7 separate regions of the Homo sapiens genome follow, and regions 1, 2, 3, 4, 5 and 6 are each linked to region 7. The links are contacts of gene promoters, found by promoter capture Hi-C in human tissues and cell types (Jung and others, 2019). All regions are on one chromosome and are shown on one strand. The core of a region is centred on a gene start or on the middle of the fragment in contact, and the rest is flanking DNA. Distances in the headings are between cores, read along the strand shown.

What was found. Contacts are between HindIII fragments. The study calls those that stand out against the background at their distance.
Region 1: a contact is called between a fragment that was not itself captured here and the fragment with the promoter of PPP1R3B in region 7, in 1 of the 25 tissues and cell types used here (lymphoblastoid cells).
Region 2: a contact is called between a fragment that was not itself captured here and the fragment with the promoter of PPP1R3B in region 7, in 1 of the 25 tissues and cell types used here (lymphoblastoid cells).
Region 3: a contact is called between a fragment that was not itself captured here and the fragment with the promoter of PPP1R3B in region 7, in 1 of the 25 tissues and cell types used here (lymphoblastoid cells).
Region 4: a contact is called between a fragment that was not itself captured here and the fragment with the promoter of PPP1R3B in region 7, in 1 of the 25 tissues and cell types used here (hippocampus).
Region 5: a fragment that was not itself captured here is called in contact with the fragment with the promoter of PPP1R3B in region 7 in 1 of the 25 tissues and cell types used here (spleen).
Region 6: a contact is called between a fragment that was not itself captured here and the fragment with the promoter of PPP1R3B in region 7, in 2 of the 25 tissues and cell types used here (dorsolateral prefrontal cortex and mesendoderm cells).

The regions. Positions count from the first base shown.
Region 1 is chr8:9,782,845-9,785,770 of GRCh38, reverse strand. No RefSeq gene overlaps it. Among named protein-coding and RNA genes, the nearest start is that of MIR597, 43 kb to the right of the region's middle. The HindIII fragment of the contact is 4,527 bases long and covers 1-2,926 here.
Region 2 is chr8:8,221,718-8,225,051 of GRCh38, reverse strand. The region is part of intron 1 of FAM85B (family with sequence similarity 85 member B); the gene reads left to right. Among named protein-coding and RNA genes, the nearest start is that of FAM85B, 4.1 kb to the left of the region's middle. The HindIII fragment of the contact is 8,646 bases long and covers 1-3,334 here.
Region 3 is chr8:9,670,972-9,673,895 of GRCh38, reverse strand. All of the region lies in intron 3 of TNKS (tankyrase), which reads right to left. Among named protein-coding and RNA genes, the nearest start is that of MIR597, 69 kb to the left of the region's middle. The HindIII fragment of the contact is 3,399 bases long and covers 1-2,924 here.
Region 4 is chr8:9,845,022-9,848,382 of GRCh38, reverse strand. No RefSeq gene overlaps it. Among named protein-coding and RNA genes, the nearest start is that of MIR124-1HG, 57 kb to the left of the region's middle. The HindIII fragment of the contact is 4,314 bases long and covers 1-3,361 here.
Region 5 is chr8:8,245,784-8,248,734 of GRCh38, reverse strand. No RefSeq gene overlaps it. Among named protein-coding and RNA genes, the nearest start is that of FAM85B, 20 kb to the right of the region's middle. The HindIII fragment of the contact is 4,944 bases long and covers 1-2,951 here.
Region 6 is chr8:9,733,512-9,736,877 of GRCh38, reverse strand. TNKS (tankyrase) reads right to left here. Exons shown (of 27, transcript NM_003747.3): 16 at 1,794-2,013; 17 at 1,392-1,501. Among named protein-coding and RNA genes, the nearest start is that of MIR597, 6.5 kb to the left of the region's middle. The HindIII fragment of the contact is 3,848 bases long and covers 9-3,366 here.
Region 7 is chr8:9,148,842-9,152,186 of GRCh38, reverse strand. It overlaps PPP1R3B (protein phosphatase 1 regulatory subunit 3B), which reads left to right and starts at 1,529. Exons shown (of 2, transcript NM_024607.4): 1 at 1,529-1,624. PPP1R3B-DT (PPP1R3B divergent transcript) reads right to left here and starts at 462. Exons shown (of 5, transcript NR_183348.1): 1 at 271-462. RefSeq lists silencers at 525-774, 1,275-1,544 and enhancers at 895-1,134, 1,181-2,129. The HindIII fragment of the contact is 27,491 bases long and covers 1-3,345 here.

The DNA.
Region 1 (2,926 bases), core at 268-2,767, 630 kb before region 7:
CAGCCTCCTGAGTAGTTGGGACTACAGGTGCACACCACCATACCCGGCTAATTTTTTGTATTTTTTTTAGTACAGACGGGGTTTCACCATGTTAGCCAGGATGGTCTCTATCTCCTGACCTTGTGATCTGCCTGCCTTGGCCTCCCAAAGTGCTGGGATTACAGGCGTGAGCCACCGCGCCTGGCCGGCAGATTCTTTAAGGGGTCTGAGTCAGTCATGGATATGCTTTCTTCTAATCTCCCATTCTAGCCAATCAAGTACTTTTTCTTAGGGGACAGAATGGAAAGACAGTTTTCAGATTAAAAAAAAAAAAAAAGAACATACTATGCAAGTTAACTCATTTAATTCTCAAAGCAACTCTATGAAATAGTAGTAGTAGTAGTAGTAGTAGTAGTAGTAGTAGTAGTAGTAGTAGTAGTATACTCATTTTTAATGATGAGGAAAGTGAGGCCCAAGAAGAATAAGGAACTTCTCAAGGTCACATGGCTAGTAAGTGGTAAAACCAAGCTATGAACTTGGGCCTTCTGATTGCAGGGCTGGAGGTTTTAATCCTACAGCCTTTCAGCTAACTAGTTATGAAATTGACCCAACAGCCCCATACACAGTTGTTTTTGGATAAACATAGAAATGGACCCTTCTTCTCTTAAAGCTTAAAACTTATATTTGTTTTATCTTAGTTCTTTCCTCAGGAAAGGAACCCTCAGGCCTCTCAAAACGTATCATAGAACTGAAACTCACCAGATCAGCACATCCAGACAGTGAGATGCCCAACACCTCAATCATCATGATTGCTTCCTTGCCTCTCCCTCGTTCCTGTTTTTTTACGCATTACTTCCCTGCTATATAAACCCCTAGTTTTAGTTAGGGAGATGGATTTGAGACTGAACTCCCATCTCCTTGACTACAGCACCCTATTAAAGCCTTCTTCCTTGGCAATACTCATCATCTCAGTCATTGGCTTTCTGTGCGGCAAGCAGCAGGGCCTAGATCAAAACCCAGGTGTTTTGGTAACAGTCACCCTAACAGACTAGACACCTAAAATTCTCATTGTTCTACTTCCATCTTCTCCTCAGACCCCAAAAGCGTTCGATTTGTATCACCTTGTACATCTTTTAAGTAGTCCTAAATTAAATAACTGTATGGCAGCCAGCATCGTCTGGATGTGCTGCTGGTGAGTATTCCTACTTGACAGATGAAAGGTAGAGACATGGCCTTCATAGAATTGCCTTGGAGTTATGAAGCAATTCTGTACTGTAGGGCAAGCACTGGTTTCCTGACTTCAGCCTCTACATACTCCCAATGACTCATAACCACGGTTACCTTATACTTTTACTTTGTGTTACATACCACTGATTTGCAGGCAGAGTTATGAAAGTACAGGTGAATAGACTTATTTTATAAATGGGTCCTTGGGCGGGAACAGTATGCCAAGAATCATATTAACAAAATTAACATCTTTCATATTGTCCGATGCAAAGTTGTTTTATTAGCACTGTATGGTAGATGGTAGTTGGTAGAAATGAAGACGTACACACCATCCCCTTTTCCACTGTTTTTTATATATCCAAGTGTTCAGAGCTAATGCAAACCAGAAGACCTGACACTTACGTTCCAACTTAATGGGAATGGATGACCCAACTTTCATTATTTCCAGTATAGTGTCAGGTGCTCTTTCAGCTTGGAGGTCTATTGTACAGTCTTATACGATAATGAAGAAAAGTGAACCTAGCCAAATGATAAAGGTTGACAGGTGCTATAAATAGGACACGCTACCTCTAATGTGAGAAACTAGGTCACAGCATCCAGACACTCAATGTAGACAACGTAATCCAAAAATACTTCTTCAAAACTGGCTACCAAGAAGCACCCATCCCTTTGATTAATAGGATCTAGTTTTCCAGCAAGTAATTTCCTTCAGAAAATAAACCCAATCCAGCAAGTGATTTACAGCTGCTCCATCCCACTTCCCCCAATCCCCAACCCACAGTGGTTGATGCTACAAAAACAGGCCCTTGGAATACATCCATGTCATAAACTAACCCAGGCTTTTGAAATTTTAAGTTACTGTTTTATATTCCACTTGCTTTTTGTGCACAATTCAGATTTCTATTTCTATAACCCTTTCTATAACCCCTTATTCACTAAGTTGTCCCCTCTATAATTTCCTTTTCTATAACCAAAAGGGAACACCTGAGTCTAATGGCATTTAGAATCTGATTGTTGTGTGAGATACTGACATAAAATCATGTGGTAGAGTCAAGTCTGTGTTTTTATTCCTGCTTAAACACTGAAACTCCATCTGTGATTGGTGATTGGTACATAGCAAATGGTACTTAATTTTTTTTTTTTTTGAGATGGAGTCTCACTCTCTTGCCCAGGCTGGAGTGCAGTGGTGCGATCTCGGCTCACTGCAAGCTCTGCCTCCCGGGTTCACACCATTCTCCTGCCTCAGCCTCCCGAGTAGCTGGGACTACAGGCGCCCACCACCACACCCGGCTAATTTTTTGTATTTTTTGTAGAGACGGGGTTTCACCGTGTTAGCCAGGATGGTCTCGATCTCCTGACCTCGTGATCCGCCTGCCTTGGCCTCCCAAAGTGCTGGGATTATAGGCGTGAGCCACTGCGCCTGGCCTTCTGGTACTTAGTCTTATAGTGGAAGGTATTCTGGGATATAACATAACTAATTTAACCACTTCCAGTTTCAGTTCCTCATCTGTGAAACAGAATTAAAAGGCCAGTTTTGCAAAGTTTTTGGGGTTACTAATGAAAATGTATGTATACAAAGTACTTGGTTCACGTAGGGGCTCAATGATGGCTATTGTTATTTGCAGGGTTACTAGAATACTTCCATTTAATTATGTCTGTTTGTTGCTCTGACAAGCCCTCTGGCAAAAAAGTTACTGTACAGATAAAATTCTAGGTTCAA
Region 2 (3,334 bases), core at 431-2,930, 930 kb after region 7:
CATGTGTCAACTTACAGAAAATTTTTATAGTTCAAATATAAATTACGTTCAATGTAGACTTTGTAATAGAATTTAAGGTTAAGTAAAGTTTCCACTTTCCTTAGGCTGTTTGCAGTGCCCAGCAGGCCCCATCATATCGAGGTGGAAGTTCTGTTAAAGGAGGAGATTGATCAGGGATGGGCAGAATAAGGAATATGCGCAGCTCAGGCTAATGATACAATGATTGAGATGTAGAAAGAGGGTCAGGCACGGGATAACGCCTGTAATCCCAGTGCTTTGGGAGGCCAAGGCAAGAGGATCGCTTGAGGTCAGACCAGCCTGGTCAACAGAGTGAGACCTAACCTGTACAAAAAAAAAAAAACAACACAAAAAAAACAAAAAAATTAGTTGGGCATGATGGTGTGCACCTGTAGTCTCAGACACTTGGAAGGCTGAGGTCAGGGGATCCCTTGAGCCCAGGAGTTTGAGGCTGCAGTGAGCTATAATCACATAACTGTACTCCAGCCTGGGTGACAGGGTGAGGCCCTGACTCAAAAAAAAATTGAGTCAGGGAAAAAATTTGAAATCTTAATCCTCAGTACCCAGGAATGTGACCTTATTTGGAAATGTGGTCTTTCTAAATGTAATCAAGTAACGATGAGTCATCCTGGATTGGGGGCTGCTGGTGAGGGGGCAGATGCAGTGACTGGTGTCCTTATAAAAGAAGAGAATGAGGGCTGGGGATGGTGGCTCATGCCTGTAATCTCAGCACACTTTGGGAGGGTGAGGTGGGGGGATCACTTGAAGTCAGGAGTTCGAGACCAGCCTGGCCAATAATAACAATAAAAAAGCCATTTTAGGTTCCAATCCACTGAAAGAAAACTGTCCCTTAGTTAATGTCATGTTTATTGGATCCATGAAGTCTTTGAAAATTTAAACTACATGGACACTGCTGTCTGTGGTGGTGGAGAGAATACCAAGGATTTAAAGGTCTTTAAGAAAGAGAATGTAGAAATCGTACCCATTGGAAACAGCAAGATGATGAAAATCGTACTGACAGTAATAATAAGCTCAAATATATAGAGCTTACTATGTATCATGAATTGCTCTGAATGCTTCATAAATATACGTTCCCTCCTTTACCCTCATGGCAGCCCAGTAAAGTCGCCATTCCCCATTTTACAGCTGGGGAAACTGAGTTACAGAGCTTTTCTGCACTGAGTCATCAGGAGCAAATGCTAGATCAGGTAATTGAACCCAAGCAATCTGGTTCCAGAGCCAAATAGATGTATTTTTTATGGTATAAAACATATACATACATTTTTAGGGGAAGGGTGGGGTAGGATGGGATGAGGATTCTGGGTAATTGCTTGGTAAATGCCAAATACCTTTCTTGTCTGTCCCTCTTTTCAAATGATAAAGTAATGTCAATTGCAGCACTTTTTTTTTTTTTTTTGAGACAAGGTCTAGCTGGAGTACAGTGATGCAGTCATAGCCCACTGCAGCCTCAAATTCCTGGGCTCAAGCGATCCACCCACATCAGCTTCCCAAGTAGTTGGGACTACAGGCCCACACTACTATGCCCAGCTAATTATTTTAATTTTTGTAGAGATGGCAGGTGGCTGTGTGGGGGTGTCTCTCTATGTTGCCCGGGCTGGTCTCGAACTCTTGACCTCAAGTGAACCTCCTGCCTCAGCCCCACAAAGCTCTGGAGTTATAGGTGTGAGCCACTGTGGCTGGCTACAATACTATTTATTTATATTTTGGACCAACAGATATTCTAGCATATAAGAAATGTGATGCTCTCTGTACACTGAAGAGTTGGTCTAATATTTGTCCTGGTGGATACAGAAATTGCCTGTCTGCTCCGCTCTGGGTGAAGAAACAAGTCCGACTGTCTCTGAGGCTATGGAGCAGTCCATCAAGAATGAAAGCCCTCTGCCAGGCACGTTGCCTCACACCTGTAATACCAGCACTTTGGGAGGCCGAGGCAGGTGGATCACTTGAAGTCAGGAGTTCGACACCAGCATGGCCAACATGGTGAAACCTTGTTTCTACAAAAAATAGAAAAATTAGCTGGGCCGGGTGATACATGTCTGTAATCCCAGCTACTCAGGAGTCTGAGGCAGGAGAATCACTTGAACTTGGGAGGCAGAGGTTGCAGTGGGGAGCTGAGATCACACCACTGCATTCCGGCCTGGGCGACAGAGCGAGACTCTCTCAAGAAAAAAAAAAAAAGAATGAATATCCTCATGATGGCCTCAAGCACATTGGTCCCTGAAGAGAGTCAAGGAAGGCCCACTTTACTCTGCACTGCAAAGCAGGCAGGTGGACAGGAATCTGATAAGTGGATTCCGTGAGAGGCATTGACCCAAAGGATTTTCTCCCTAATGGTCAGTTCAGCAGAATATTAAACTCAGCACAGCATCCTGTTCCCTGAAACCATCTGTTTTGTCAGTGGGGAATGTTCTTGTCTCGTTAAATGTCCTCATGCTACTGTCAAGATATCCTGTTACAAAATGTCATAAACCAGGTTTACAAATAGGCCAGGTGATTGTGGAATTTCTCCTTGGCAAGGCCTTAGCTACGGGCGTGCGATTGGGGTGCAATAATCACTGTGTTCCGGGCCACTTGAGGGATAAAATATACCTTAGGTGATAAACTGTTGTATTTTAATGTGAATATTTCCACCAACATTAGACAGTAACCTCATGAGTTTTCTGTTACACTGTGGAGTTGCAACAAGCTAACAAGCAAGTTGCAAACATAATGATCGCATTTGGCTCCTATTCACAGCAAGGGTTCTTCAAGCTGTACCTGGGACAGTCTTCCCTCACATGAGGTTTATAGCATCACTTATTTCATTATTTATTTATTTTTTGAGACAGTGTTTTGCTCTGTCGCCCAGGCTGGAGAGCAATGGCGCGATCTTGGCTCACTGCAACCTCCGCCCCCCCGGGGTTCAAGCGATTCTCCTGTCTCAGCCTCCCGAGTAGCTGGGATTATAGGCACCCGGCACCACACCTGGCTAATTTTTGTATTTTTAGTAGAGACGGGGTTTCACCATGTTGACCGGGCTGGTCTCAAACTCCTGACTTCAGGTGATCCACCTGCCTCAGCCTCCCAAAGTGTTGGGATTACTGGTGTGAGCCACAGCGCCCGGCTATAGCATCATTTAAACTGTGTTTCTGCCATGAATTGTTAGTTGGTAGTTAACAAAAAATAGACCACCTCATTTATGTCTCACAGTTAGCATTGGTTTTTGTGTTTTCTTTAGGCTCGTTTTTTAATTGTTTTTAAAATTGTGCAACAGGGTCTTGTTCTGTTGCTGAGGCCAGAGTGCAGTGACACAATC
Region 3 (2,924 bases), core at 233-2,732, 520 kb before region 7:
TTGTTACAACATTTTTTTAAAAGAAAAAAAGCTCACCAAAGTATGGAACTAGAGACAAACTACGAAGTTATTATTTGAGAAGCTTTCCAATTCTTTAGGAAAACGGAAATGAACCCCCCGACCCCTGCATAGCAGCTGTGAAAAAAAATTCCAGGCCGGGTGCGGTGGCTCACACCTGTAATCCCAGCGCCTTGGAGGCCCAGAAGGGTGGATCACGAGGTCAGGAGTTCAATACCAGCCTGGTCAAGATGGTGAAACCTCCTCTCTACTAAAAACACAAAAAAATTAGCTGGGCGTGGTGGCACGTGCCTGTAATCCCATCTATTCGGGAGGCTGAGACAGAGAATTTCTTAAACCTGGGAGGCAGAGGTTGCAGTGAGCTGAGATCGCACCACTGCACTCCAGCCTGGGCAACAGAGCAAGACTCCTGCTCAAAAAAAAAAAAAAAAAAAATCCAAAAGGTAAAAGGCCCCAAATACAACTCTATTATCCTATATTAAAATTTTTATGTCATAATTTTATGTCATAAAATTTATATATTATTTTCATGTCTTAAAAATTGTAATATATTAAATGTCAACACAAAAACCTCAATCAATGTCCTAAAACATTTCAAAAACACAATATAACACTCATATAATAAAAGCTTTGTAAAAGCTTTATGCAGGAGGCAGTAATATGACCTCTCTTAGTACGAGTAACATCTAAGATACACATCCCATTTCCTGACACTTAGCAGGGTTTCCAATCATTTGTACTTGTTTCTGATGTGGTGTCAATTGTAGCCATCAATAGGTGTCTCAATAAATACACATCGGCCAAAAAAAGAGGGTATTATCAAATACATACATTCTTTAAATTGGATATTAAAAGGTAAAAGAGGTGTTCCTCTAGAAGCTGTTAACCAGTGGGACTTTCTGCAAAGTGTGCCGGTACTTTAAAAGAAAACAGCCTTTGTGACCACAGTACACATGAAAGAACTTTTTGATATATTAAAAAGAAAACAAAAAAGGAGGAAAGGAAGACGGAAGGAGGGAGGGAACTCTCTAAGCATGGCAGGTTATGATGCTATGTGTTCAGTCTGGGAGCTCAGGACAACCACTATTATTTAAGCCATCAACTATCTGTGTTAATGGCAGCTAGGGGCTGGGGGAAGTGGGATATTAGTTTGTTTTTTTTTTTTTGTGTGTGTGTGTGTGTGTGTGTGTGTGTGTATGTGTTTTTTTTTTTTTTTTTTTTTTACCATCACAGTGTCTGCTGCATAAAAAGTGATTTAAATCAGGAAAAGTAAATTCCCTATTTGATCCAAAACAACTTGGCAATAGTTTTTACATTTTGTTCTATATCACAGGTCCTTTTTCTACAGCCATCAATTCACACTCCCTTGTTTGCAAATCTGAAACCCAAAAAGCTCTAAAAACTCAGATGGCAGCAAAACTTGACCCATTTAGTGTACACAGCTACACAGCACAGCTGTCATATATTTCACTACAAAAATATCACTGTTACATAGTACAGCCCCAGTCTCCACGGGGGGTGTTTTGTAATATATGGTAGATGTACAGTAGCCCCCATTATTCACAGGGGATACATTCCAAGGTCCCCCATTATGTAAGTGGATGCCTAAAACTGCGGACGGTACCTACCCTATATATGTTTTTTCCAATAATACATACCCCTTATAAATTTTAATTTATAAACTAGGCATAGTAAGAGATTAAGAATAATCTCTAATAAAACAGAACAATTGGAACAATATGCCAATATCACTACTCTTGTGCTTCTGGGTCACTATGAGGTAAAGTAAGGATTACTTGCACACAAGTGCTGCAATAGCAGGACGCTGATCTGATCACTGAGATGGCTACGAAGTGCCTAACGGGCAGAGAGTGTAGACAGCATGGATCTATGGACAAAGGGAAGGTTCACGCCCTGGGCAGAATACAGCAGGTCTGTGTGAGATTTCATCACCATACTCAGAGCATCATGCCATATAAAACTTATAAATTGTTTATTTCAGGAATTTTCCACTTAATATTTTGAGAGGCAGTTGACCACAGGTCACTGAAACCTTGAAAAGTGAAACTGTGGATAAGGGGTGACTACTATTAAACTGTGTCTTTTCTTATTCATTTTTCGAAGTATAATTTACATATAGTTAAATTCACCTTTTCAGATGGTTCTGTGGGTTTTGAAAAACTTATACAGCTGTGTGAACACTACACTTCAAGACAGGAAACATTTCTATCACACCAAAAAGTCAGGCCCCTCTGAAATCAATCGCCTACTCCAATCCCCCTCCCTCCATGGTAACCATGGATATGATTTCTGTCCCCAGTTTTATTTTACGGAATGCCATGTAAATGGAATCACAGAATATATAAACTTCTGATTCTAGTATCTTTTACTTAGTATAAATGCTTTTAAGTTTCGTCCATGTTGTTGGACATATCGGTACTTTGATCCTTCTTATTGTTAAGTTATATTCCATTATATGGATGTATCTCAATTTGTTTATCCAATCACCAGCTGCCAGACATTTGGGTTGTTACCAAATGTCTTTGGGTGATTATGAAGAAAGCTACTGGCAACATTTACAGAGAGTATTTTTGTATGGACAAATAACTTCATTTTTCTTGGGTAAATATCTAGCAGTGGGGTTGCTGGGTTATATCATAAGTATCTGTTTAACCTTGTTAAGAAATAGCCAAACCATGTCTTTTTTGAAATCTGAAAAATTCTCATGTCACCTATAGAAAAGAAAAGAAAAAAAAGAGAAAAAGTTAACTACTGAGAACTATGATGGCACTGCCACAATTTCACCACTGCAGATACCAACCTTGCCTCATATAGGGGCAATTCATCTGGCCTGAACTAATTTGCACATCTTTTAACTCTTTCCTTCTCACTTGTTATCTGCATTA
Region 4 (3,361 bases), core at 89-2,588, 700 kb before region 7:
CCAGGCTGATCTCTAACTCCTGAGCTCAGGCAATCCACTCGCTTCACACTCCCAAAGTGCTAGTGAGAGGTGACAGCGTGCTGGCAGTCGTCACAGCCCTCGCTTGCTCTCGGCGCCTCCTCTGCCTGGGCTTCCACTTTGGCAGCACTTGAGGAGCACTTCAGCCCACCGCTGCACTGTGGGAGCCCCTTTCTGGGCTGGCCAAGGCCGGAGCCGCCTCCCTCAGCTTGCGGGGAGGTGTGGAGGGAGAGGCGCGGGCGGGAACCTGGGCTGCGCAAGGTGTTTGCGGGCCAGTGCGAGTTCCGGGTGGGCGTGGGCTGGGCAGTCCCCGCACTTGGAGCCACCGGCCGGCCGCGCTGGCCCCGGGCAGTGAGGGGCTTAGCACCTGGGCCAGCAGCTGCTGTGCTCAATTTTTCGCAGGGCCTTAGCTGCCTTCCTGCAGGGCAGGGCTCGGGACGTGCAGCCTGCCATGCCTGAGCCTCCCCCACCCTCGTGGGCTCCTGCTTGGCCCAAGCCTCCCCGACGAGCGCCGCTCCCTGCTCCGTGGCACCCAGTCCCATCGACCACCCAAGCGCTGAGGAGTGCAGGCGCAGGGCGCGGGACTGGCAGGCAGCTCCATCTGCGGCCCTGGTGCGGGATCCACTGGGTGAAGCCAGCTGGGCTCCTGAGTCTGGTGGGGACGTGGAGAACCTTTAGGTCTAGCTCAGGGATTGTAAATACACCAATCAGCACCCTGTGTCTAGCTCAGGGTTTGTGAATGCACCAATCTACACTCTGTATCTAGTTACTCTGGTGGGGACTTGGAGAACCTTTGTGTGGACACTCTGTATCTAGCTAATCTAGTGGGGAGGTGGAGAACCTTTGTGTCTAGCTCAGGGATTATAAACGCACCAATCAGCGCCCTGTCAAAACAGATCACTCCGCTCTCTGTAAAATGGACCAATCAGCAGGATGTGGGTAGGGCCAGATAAGAGAATAAAAGCAGGCTGCCCGAGCCAGCAGTGGCAACCCGCTTGGGTCCCCTTCCACAATGTGGAAGCTTTGTTCTTTGGCTCTTTGCAATAAATCTTGCTGCTGCTCACTCTTTGGGTCCACACTGCCTTTATGAGCTGTAACACTCACCGAGAAGGTCTGCAGCTTCACTCCTGAAGCCAGCGAGACCATGAACCCACCGGGAGGAAAGAACAACTCCAGATGCACTGCCTTAAGAGCTATAACACTCATCACGAGGGTCCGCGGCTTCATTCTTGAAGTCAGTGAGACCAAGAACCCACCAATTCCGGGCACACTAGGATTACAAATGTGAGCCACTGTACCCAGTCAACACTTGTTACTATCTGTTTTTTTTAATTAGTTTTTTGTTGTTTTTATAATAGCCATTCTAGTGGTGTGAATTGGTATATCCCACTAGATACCAATAGTTTCGACTTTCTTTTCTCTGATGGCCAATAATGTTGACCATCTTTACATGTGCTTATTCATCGTTTGTGTTTCTTCTTTGGAGAAATGTCAGATCCTTTGGCCACTTTTTAATTGGGTTATTACCTTTTTATTATTGAGTTGTAAAAGTTCTTTATACTAGATACAAATTTCTTATCAGACATGATTTGCAAAAATTTTCTCCCATGCTGTAGAGTGTCTTTTCACTCTCTTGGTCGTGTCCTTTGAGGCACAAAAATTTAAACTTCTGGTGATGTCCAGTTTATCTATATTTTTCTTTTATTGCTTATGCTTTTGGTGTCATGTCTAAGAAACCATTGCCTAATCTAAGGACATGCAAGTTTATACCTGTGTTTTCTTCTGAGAGTTTTATAGTTTTAGCTCTTTAATTTAGGTTTTTAATCAATCTTTTAGTTAATTTTTGCATATGGTGTGAGATATGCATCCAGCTTTATTCCATGTAAATTTCTATTTGCATGTGGATATTCATTTGCATGTGGATAATCCATGTGACCCAATACCACTGGTTGAAATGATAGTTCTTTCTCCCACTGAATTGTCTTGGCACTCTAGTAAAAAAATCAATTAACTGTATACATGCCAGGACCTATTTCTGGAATTTCAGTTCTATTCCGTTGATCTATGTGTCTATTCTTACACCCGTTCCACACTGTCTTGATTTTCATATTTTTGTAGTTCTTTGAAATTAAGAAATGTGAACCTGGTCTTTTTTCTCAAAATTGTTTTGTCTATTCTGAGTCCCTTGCATTTCCATATGAATTTTTGGATCAGCTTGTCAATTTCTGTAAAGAAGGCAGCTGGGATTTTGATAGTGATTGCATTAAACATCCATATCAATTTGGGGAGTATTGCCACTTTAACAATATTACATCTTTCCATTCATGAATATAGGATGTCTTTCCATTTATTTAGCTCTTCTTTCACATTTTTCAATAATGTTTTGTAATTTTCATTTTATAAGTTTTGCGCTTCTTTTGTTAATTTATTCCTGAGCATTTGATATGGTTTGGATCTGTATGCCTACCCAAATCTCATGTTGAATTGTAATTCCCAGTGTTGGAGGTGGGGTCTGGTTAGGAGGTGATTGTATTAAAGGGGTAGTTTTCTCATAAATGGTTTAGCACCATCACCTTAGTGCTGTTCTCGTGATAGTGAGTCCTTGGGAGATCTAGTCGTTTAAAAGTGTGTAGCACCTCCCACCTCACTCGTTCTTGTTTCTACTCTGACCATGAGATGCCTCACTCCCCCTTTGCCTTCCGCCATGATTGAAAGTTTCCTGAGGCCTCTCTAGAAGCTGATGCTGCCATGCTTCCTGTACATCCAGTAGAACTATGAGCCAATTAAACCTCTTCGTTTTGAATTACCCAGTCTCAGGTATTTCTTCATAGCAGTTGGGAATGGACAAATATAGTATTTTATTCTTTTTGGTGCTGTTCTAAATAAAACTACTCTCTTAATTTCATTTTTAGTTTGCTCATTGCTACTGTACAAAAATACAATTGATTCCATCAGGACTTGGTGAAATGAAAAAGATAGGAAACCATAGAAATACAATGAAATATTGTTTATATTCATCTTGTATTCTGAAACTTGCAAGACTCACTTGTTAGTTCTAAGAGATTTTTAGTGGATTTTCTTGTATTTTCTGTATACCAGCTCATGTCATCTGCAAACAGAGATAGTTTTACTTCTTCTTTTCCAATCTGTATCCATTTTTATTTCATTTTCTTACCTAATTGCCCTCACTAGAACCTCTAAAACAATGTTCAATAGAAGTGGCAAGAGCAGATGTCAGTATCTTGTTCTTAATCTTTAAATTCAGACTTTTACCTTTAAGTATGATGTTACTTGTTGGTTTCCCTAGATGTTCTTTATCAGGGTGAGGAATTTCCCTTCTATT
Region 5 (2,951 bases), core at 5-2,504, 900 kb after region 7:
TTTTTTTTAGACAGAGTCTCACCCTGTCACCCAGGCTGGAGTGCAGTGGCGTGTTCTCGGCTCACTGCAACCTCCACCTCCCAGGTTCAAGTGATTCTCCTGCCTCAGCCTCCCTGTGAGTAGCTGGGACTACAGGCGCACACTACCATGCCCGGCTAATTCTTCTATTTTTAGTAGAGATGGGGTTTCACCATATTGGCCAGGCTGGTCTCAAACTCCTGACCTCAGGTGATCCGCCCACCTCGGCCTCCCACACTGCTGGGATTACAGGCATAAGCCACCGTGCCCAGCCAATAATTTATTTTTAAACAAAATTGTGCCAGAAATTACCTTGACCTTTGAAGTGATCATCTTAAAAGCATCTTTATTCTAATGAAGTTGTCATTTTTGGCATTTTTTTGTACACGCACTCTGTGTCCCTACGAGGGAGGTAATAAATACTTCACTCCTACAAAACATGACATATATTATATTTTATCTTATTACAGATGAGAGAATTCAGGCTTAGAAAAGTAAAGTGACTCAGCTAAGATTTCCTATCTAGTAAATATTTGTAAGAATATTAATTCATGGTTCAGGCTCCAAAGATATTATTAAAAAGTGTTCTACTTCTAATAATAAAAAAAATAGTTCCTAAAAAACACAATGACCATATCTAAGCTGGTATTTTTTGTCCATATGAGAGAAAAGGCTTTAAAACATAGATCTGCCCTGGCCAGGCCTTTCATCTTGCAGATGTCGCAGTACCCTCTAGTGGCACAATGAAGACACAGACCTCGAGAGAAATTTTTTTCATTTGAAAACTGAGCCCTTCATTTTTAAGGGTAACAGGGGTTAATGTGGGACTTCCAATTAAAAATAAAATGACCAGATATGTTTAACATCTTTATTTCAAAAACTCCACTAAAATGGAGATAGCAAAATTAAAATATTATTAATCCACAGAGGCAAAGAGAACTGGAGATGATCCCATAAGGCAGTGGGCCCCAACTTTTTTGGCACCAGGAACCAGTTTCATGGAAGACAATTTTTCCACTTACCAGGGTGGGGGAGGAGAAGATGGTTTCAGGATGATTCTAGCACTTTACACTTATTGTGAACTTTATTTCTATTATTATTACATTGCAATATATAATGAAATAATTACACAACTCTCCCACTGTAGAATCAACTGGGAGCCCTGAACTTGTTTTCTTGCAACTAGACGGTCCCATCTGGGGATATTGCGAGACAGTGACACCCGAAGTGTGCCGCTTATGTCCAGTCTACATAATCTCATTTTGGTCGCTATCACTGCAAAAAATCCTGCTTCACAAAGACAGGGTGTTGGAAATGGAACCAGGCTTTTCAGTGCTTTTGTGGCAATTTCAAGATATTCGGCCTTGACTTTAATCCGGAACGTATGGAGATTTGAAATTGTCTCAAACGCCCTTTGTGTGTGTGTGTGTGTGTGTGTGTGTGTGTGTGTGTGTGTGTGTGTGTGATGGGGTCTTGCTCTTGTTGCCCAGGCTGGAGTGCAATGGCGTGATCTCGGCTCACTGCAAGCTCCGCCTCCCGGGTTCAAGTGATTCTCCTGCCTCAGCCTCCCGAGTAGCTGGGACTACAGGCATGCACTACCATGCCCAGCAAATTTTTTGTATTTTTAGTAGAGACAGGGTTTCACTATGTTGGACAGGCTGGTCTTGAACTCCTGACCTTGTGATCCGCCCACCTCGGCCTCCCAGCATGTTAAACATACTTTTAAGGGCACCAAATACAACTGTGCAACTGAAGCACATCAACTCACTTTCCACTATAAAGCCTGCCACCAGATGCAGGTTGTCACTTCCCACTCACTGATAGGGTTTTGATACGAGTTTGCAAGCAGTTGATTTATTTGGTCTCTGTGCTGTAAATCCTCTCTGCTAATGTTAATCTGTATTTACAGCCACTCCCCAGCGCTAGCATCACAGCCTCGGCTCCACCTCAGATCACAGGCATTAGATTCTCATAAGAAGCTTGCAACCTAGATCCCTCACGTGTGTAATTTACAATAGAGTTTGTGCTCCTATGCGAATCTAATGCTGCTGCTGATCTGACGGGAGGTAGTGTTCAGGCAGTAATGTGAGCAATGAAGAGCGGCTGTAACTACAGATGAAGTTTCACTTGCTCACCGGCTGCTCACCTCCTACTGGACCACCTGGATCCTAACAGGCCACTGACTAGTACCAGTCCATCGCCCAGGGGCAGGGGACCCCAGCCATCGGTGACAAAAGACTTCAATAAAATCCTTAGAAGACAGGAAGAGGACAGATGGGGGTGACTGACCTAACAGGACAGAAGAAGTTAAGGCCAGTGGCCTGTATGAGGCACAGCTGATGAAACTGGTTTGTCTTGCTCTGAAGATCACCTACAGGGTTCAAAGCTTGAAGCCACTATATTCTGTGAGCAGACAGATGAGGCAATGGGCTGCAAACTGAGTGGATTCAAATTCCGTTCACCCAGCTACTCACATGGGAGTCAGGAGGTTCACACTCAGGACAGTTTCAGTCCCAAGGCTCTGAGCTCAGGGATAGCAGTCCCAGTATAGACCAGGAGAAGAGAGGATGGGAAATGAGGGAAGATCCACACACTGAATGGCAGGTCTTCAGCCTCTCATGGACTGCTCCCATGCTCCTTTCTGGAGAAGCCGAAGAGTACAACCATCACAAGTCCCTCAGGAAGAAGGCTGGCTAACTGGTGAGCCTTCTGTGAAGCCAGCCTTCAACAAACCCAGCCTTGTTTGTTTAGGTTTTTCTCTAAAATATGAATAGATGGTCAAAGTGAAGCGGCATCATATTCTGGGGTAAATACCCGAGATTTGTTGTCTCACGGCCATGGAAAACTAGGACACAGATACACCAAGAGTGAGCTTAAGGCGGAAGTTTAATAGGCGACAGAAAGAGAAGATCTCTCTCTGCTGCAGAGAGAGG
Region 6 (3,366 bases), core at 683-3,182, 580 kb before region 7:
GCCAAGTCAATCCTAAGCCAAAAGAACAAAGCTGGAGGCATCACACTACCTGACTTCAAACTATACTACAAGGCTACAGTAACCAAAACAGCATGGTACTGGTACCAAAACAGAGATATAGATCAATGGAACAGAACAGAGCCCTCAGAAATAATGCCGCATATCTACAACTATCTGATCTTTGACAAACCTGAGAAAAACAAGCAATGGGGAAAGGATTCCCTATTTAATAAATGGTGCTGGGAAAACTGGCTAGCCATATGTAGAAAGCTGAAACTGGATCCCTTCCTTACACCTTATACAAAAATCAATTCAAGATGGATTAAAGATTTAAACGTTAAACCTAAAACCATAAAAACCCTAGAAGAAAACCTAGGCATTACCATTCAGGACATAGGCGTGGGCAAGGACTTCATGTCCAAAACTCTGGACTTTCACCTGGAGGTTTTAGCTAGTAATTCCTACTCTCTGAAACCATATATATCAACTGCTCAACCATTTAATTTTTTTTTTTTTTTTTTTTTTTTAGATGAGGTCTCACTATGTTGATCAGGGTGGCCTTGAACTCCTGGGCTCAAGCGATCTTCCCACCTCAGCCTCCCGAATGGCTGGGATTACAGGCGCATGCCACTGTGCCTGCTACTCGAATATTTTTAAGGTGCTGATGATAAATGTAAGCCAACATACTTTCCATGCCTGTATAACAGCTGCACAGCTTTTCTAGTTTTTAAAATATACTTGAGGTAGAATTAAGAAATTGGTATTTATTATATTATTTTACATTATATATATTATATTACAATATTGATAAATATAAACTGAGCACCCATTACATGCCTATTATTGTGCTTGATAACGTGCTGAGACCAAAAAGCAATAAAAAGCATGACTGTTGGCCAAAAGGTAGTTAAGCTTAGCCGGGAAGATACACCAAAACTCTGAACAAAAGATTAAAATTATGCTAAATCATGCTATTAGTTAGATATCTACTTACTTAATGCATAGTATGCATTTAATAAAGTCGTAAATGCCAGGGAAGTTTTCTAGATTTTATTTTATTTATTTATTTATTTATTTTGAGTCAGAGTCTCGCTCTGTCACCCAGGCTGGAGTGCAGTGGCGCGATCTGGGCTCACTGCAAGCTCCGCCTCCCGGGTTCATGCCATTCTCCTGCCTCAGCCTCCCGAGTAGCTGGGACTACAGGTGCCCGCCACTATGCCCGTCTAATTTTTTGTATTTTTAGTAGAGACGGGGTTTCACCGTGTTAGCCAGGATTGTCTCGACCTCCTGACCTCGTGATCTACCTTCCTCGGCCTCCTAAAGTGCTGGGATTACAGGCGTGAGCCACCGCGTGCGGTCAGTTTTCTAGATTTTAATGTTAGTATGCTTACCCCATAAGATGCCGCATTATGAAGAGGAATTAAACCACCCTTGTCCTGGGCATTAACATCAGCTCCATGCTCTAGAAGATATTCAGCTACTTCCAGGTTATTATAGCCTGCTATTTAGAGTAAAAAAAATACAGGAAACGTGTCAGCTTAAAGGAAAAAAAATACATACATATGTAATAAGGACCAGAAAATGTTAAGGTTTTAATACTTTTTGCTTCAAAAGCTAATACTGTTATCACATAATGGAGGGACTTCACAATAAGAAATTATACAAAACTATGTCAATCAAGAGCATTTTACTAAGTAGTCCCATTTGTGTTCAGCATGGCTTTCGTCTTTTAGTAAACTGTATTAGGTGTCCGAGAAAGGAAAAGGAGGCTTGGAGGCACTGGGGGCGCTTACCTGCCAGGTGCAGAGGGGTTGAATTTCTGCCCTGGGTGTCTCTGCAGTTGATATTCTCTGGGGTACAGAGCTTCTGCACTCTTGCCAGGCAGCCCTTCTTGGCAGCATCCAACAAAGCAGCATCCCCTCTCAGTAAGTCCTGAATATCTGTGTCTCCTTCCTTTACCAAATCCAAAGGTGTATTTCCATCTCTGTTCTTTTTAGTTGGATCTGCTCCATGCTACAAAGAAGAAAAACCAAATGGGGTTTGTATTTTCTGTAGTAAGTAGGTAGGTAGGTAGGTAGGTAATTAATTTACTCTACCTTTGTTCCTCTGGGGAAGATATCTACTCTATATGCATTTTGAAAAACACTTTGCAAAATTCCTACTTAGTAATATAATGGATCAGCTTTCTAACTATTAATACTATACAGTCAAAGCTTCAGGATCAATGGTGATGATAAAGTAGGGAGAGTGTTAAGTATCTTTGAGACAACCTATATAATACACTTTTTCTCAGACTCCAAGTTGTCTTTGGAAACCTATTTTACTTTGAAGAATAGCATGGATGTTAATTTTGACCAGATTCAATTACATAAAGATACTCAGTAGGTATGAAAAAGAAGAGAGTAGAGTAAGACACACTGGTAAAAAAGGACTTAATTCTAAAGGCCATCAGTAAGAATAAAGTTTGGTAATATTTTTAAGATTTTTATCCTAAGTCTTAACATCTATCATGAAATTAGATATAAATGTATTAAAAATTATAGATTTTAAAAGTTTAATTACCAATAGCTATTAAATAAAGTAAATAGAAGTCAATAATTTTTATTATGGGTCGGCCACAGACTGTCATGGGCTCACTGCGGAAATTAGTTGTAAGTCAAGGTGGACAATGGATTCACAATGACTTGGAAGTTATTTCTTACCAACCAGTGATAATAAAAATGAGTATCAGATATTGTGTTTTTCTCAAGATTCATAAGAATGTATTTGATATCATAAAAGTGAAGGGAGAAGAATTTTATTTAAACACTTCAATTTTTTTTCCGTAGTTAAAAAAAAGCAAAAGAAAATCTCATAAATACACATCTGGTCGTTTTTTAAAAATATACTTTAAGTGAGCATAAATTATAGTTAGTTTCATATAACTACTAGTTTTCACTCTTTTACATGTATCTAAAATCTATATGAACAACTTTAGAGATCATCTTATGTTTTAATAAAAATCTGATACTACAATAAGTTCTTAAAGACACAATATTTGATGTTTACTAGTGAATGAGTTAGTTAACAATAATAAAATAGCCAACAAAGAAAAAAAACCCAACTTGATTGAAAAGCTTGTTTCTCCTGTACAGTTTTTTCTGATATTAATACTATAAGTACTAGACAAGCAATGCAAACTATTTCAGCTCTTTCTAAAACCTACTTTGATGAATTTTTATGACATGGACTTAAACCATTTCAGATATTCACTTTAGGCACTACGCAAAGCTATGTGTCATATCACATAAACGGTCTTCTGGGAAATAGAAAATGAGAGCAGTCTCTACAGCAGTATTGTTCTTAATAGAATAACATACCCCAACT
Region 7 (3,345 bases), core at 280-2,779:
TTTCTAATTTTTTTCTAAAACTCTACTGGTCATTAAAATTAGAAAACTGGTAGCCTCATGCCTAAAGTGGCTAGTTCAGATCAAGTTACATGTAAACTGAAGAAAGGAAGAGCCTCTGATTCAAACTCTTTAAGGTCATCATTTTTTTCTTTTTCTAAGACCATTTTCTATAGATCTCAAGGTGCATAATATGCATCGCGGAGGCCCTGTAGATTTAGATAGCGATTATAACCGATTCAAGTCAGGAAATTTCTTCTGAAGTATACCTACCTGTGAAACCCTCCATATCTGGGGCGCTCTGTGCCACGGGTGTCAGACTTTTGCAAAAGCCCTGTCATTCTAACGGGACGCCCTCCTGTAGGAAGTTGCCCCCTGGCGCCCGTCCTCCGGCTTCTGATGAAACGGCGACCCACCACCCCCTTCCCAGACCCTGGCCCGCAGCCGGATCACTCCGGGCGCGCTGCCGATCACGTGGCGAAGCGGTGCTCCCCAGCGCCGTGGCTGCGCGCCCATTGGTCGGCGGCTGGAGTCCCGGGCGCGCCCATTGGCTGCGGGGGGCGTTCACGTGGCAGGGGGCCTGGGATGGACCCCGGGGTCCCGAGAGCTGGCAGGAAAGTTAAAGGGGGCAGCGCGGCCGCGGGGAGCTCGAGTCCCGGGTGACTGCTGGAGGGAGGAGGTGACCGCGCAGCTCTCGTGCACGGACGGACTTCGCCGCCCGCGGGGGGCGCGAACCCGAGCCCGGGCCCAGCTCCTGCCGTCACGGCAGCTGTCCCTGTTCCCCCAGGGCGTATGCTGCCGCGGGCTGGCGCGTCTGCCCTCGGGACTTATGAGCTGAACCCGGTACGTAGCTCCCCAAGTCTCGAGTCCGAGGGAAGGGCTGGGGACAACAAGGCGAGGGCGTGCAGCGGGGACCTCTTTGGGTTCCTGTCACCTACATTTTCACCGTGCGACTTGCACTGGCACACCGGGGCTGGAACACTCTAGGTAGCTGGCCCCAGGGAGCTGTTGCTTCAGCGTGGAGAGGGCGATCCAGGGACCGCAGCTGGGAAGCGCCTCCCGGGCCCACGTGCTCCACCGCGCTGCTGGGCCCGGCTGCGACCGTGACCCGGGAGCTGCGGCTGCGGCGGCTGATCCCTTTACCACCTGTTGTTCTGGCTTCGAAACTAGCACAAGTTCCCAGCCCCGGGTCCCGAGAGGTCTGGAGACTTCTCCAAAGTTGGGTAGTGGGGTTTGGAGCTTAAGGACAAGCCGCTTCGTCTCTCTCCGGGCCTTATTTTCCCTATAAAACGCGAGGAAATACACTTGGTAGGCTCTCAGGCCACCGAGGGCGACGGGACCTAGCACGATCCCCGTCCCGGGCTGGCGGAGGCCAGGCGGCCGCGCGGGGGTGCTGGTGTCGCGCTGCTTGCTCCGGCCGGGGTTGCCCCTTTGCCGGCCCCGCCCGGGTGCGATAACGGGCTCCTCCTCCTCGTCGTCTTCCTCCCACCGCCGACATCTCCGGGAACCCAGCCCAGGCCCTGCCTCCCGGACACACCGACGCTCACGTAGTCGCGCTTGCCACAACCCTGCGGGCTCTCCGATGCGGCGAGCGAGCTGGGGAGGGGGCTTCTCCGCGGCCCAAAAGGTGGGTGCGGCGCGAGGCCAAGGAGGCTTGTAGGGAGGTTGGGGGCGGAGTGCAGCCCTGGTCAAACTGGACGGAGGGGACAGAGTCGGAGAGTAACTTGTGGGATCCTCCAGCCTGGAGAGCACTGGCCTGCTCCTGCGTCTCTTTGGAATCCAGAAAAAGGGGTGTGGAAGGCACAGTAGCTGCAAAAGAGGGAGTGGGGGCCGGTAATGACTTACTGGAAGATTTGGGGCCTGTCAGAGCACTGTTTTCTGAAAAAGAGGAGAAAACAGAGGAAAGACTGGACTTGGGAACTTGGAGACTTGGAAGGTGTTGGAACCTGTGGTCTGAGTGGCGGGGGCCTGCCTGGGAGACCCAGGGTGCAGCAGAAGAGACAATTAGAGCTTTGGTCTGGGAGGAAGAGGAGGAGAGGAGGAAATGTTTCCTTGGGCAGAGTTGTCCAGGAGCCAAAACTAAAGTGAAGACAGCTGGAGGACTTACACAAAAGTACAGTTGAGGTATTTAGGAAAAAAAGTTAGTGGGAAGAGAAGCGGCACCAGGGGTGGGTCGCAACATACAATGTCAGGGCCAGCAGGGACCTTGGAGGGGACCTCAAGCCCAGAGCAGCTGAGTGACTCGCTCAAGTAGCAAAGCAAGGTGCGGGCATTCTTAGCCTAGTACTCTGTTTTCCCTCGTACGTTTTTAGACGGCAGGGGCTGTGTCATTTGAACTTGCCTCTTTCCTAGAATATGCAACTGTATTCACAAATGTCAGTCTCCAAGATGCTTTGGATGATGGGGACAGGATCAAGGGGTACAAGGAGCCTTTAAGGCTGTGAATAGGCCCCCATGGTCTGAGTACAAAGGGGAAAGACATGCACTCTCTTCATGCTGGATCAGTGAAACCTTTTGGAAGGGAACACAGAATTGTTGGAGGGAGGTAGATGGCCATGTCTTTAAAAATGAAAATTATAACCTGGTTGTGAATGTTTACTGAATGCAGTTCGGCAGCTTTCAGTGTTCCTGGTGGGTTGCTTGTGCATCTGATTTTTTTGTTTGTTTGGTTTTGTTTGTTTGTTTTGAGACGGAGTGTCGCTCTGTCGCCCAGGCTGGAGTGCAGTGGCGCCATCTCTGGCTCATTGTAAGCTCCGCCTCCCGGGTTCACGCCATTCTCCTGCCTCGGCCTCCTGAGTAGCTGGGACTACAGGCGCCCGCCACCACGCCCAGCTAATTTTTATTTGTATTTTTAGTAGAGACGGGGTTTCACCGTGTTAGCCAGGATGGTGTCGATCTCCTGACCTCGTGATCTGCCCGCCTCGGCCTCCCAAAGTGCTGGGATTACAGGCGTGAGCCACCACGCCCGGCCTTTTTTTGCCTTTTTTTTTTTTTTTTGAGACGTAGTTTCGCTCTGTCGCCCAGGCTGGACTGCAGTGGCGCCATCTCGGCTCACTGCAAGCTCCGCCTCCCGGGTTCGCGCCATTCTCCTGCCTCGGCCTCCTGAGTAGCTGGGACTACAGGCGCCCGCCGCCACGCCCGGCTAATTTTTTTTTTTTGTATTTTTAGTAGAGACGGGGTTTCACCGTGTTCGCCAGGATGGTCTCGATCTCCTGATCTCGTGATCCGCCCGCCTCGGCCTCCCAAAGTGCTGGGATTACAGGCGTGAGCCACCACGCCCGGCCTTTTTGTCTTTTCTTACCAGAAGAAAGAGAGAGAGAGAATAAGAGAATGGAGGGGATAATGTCG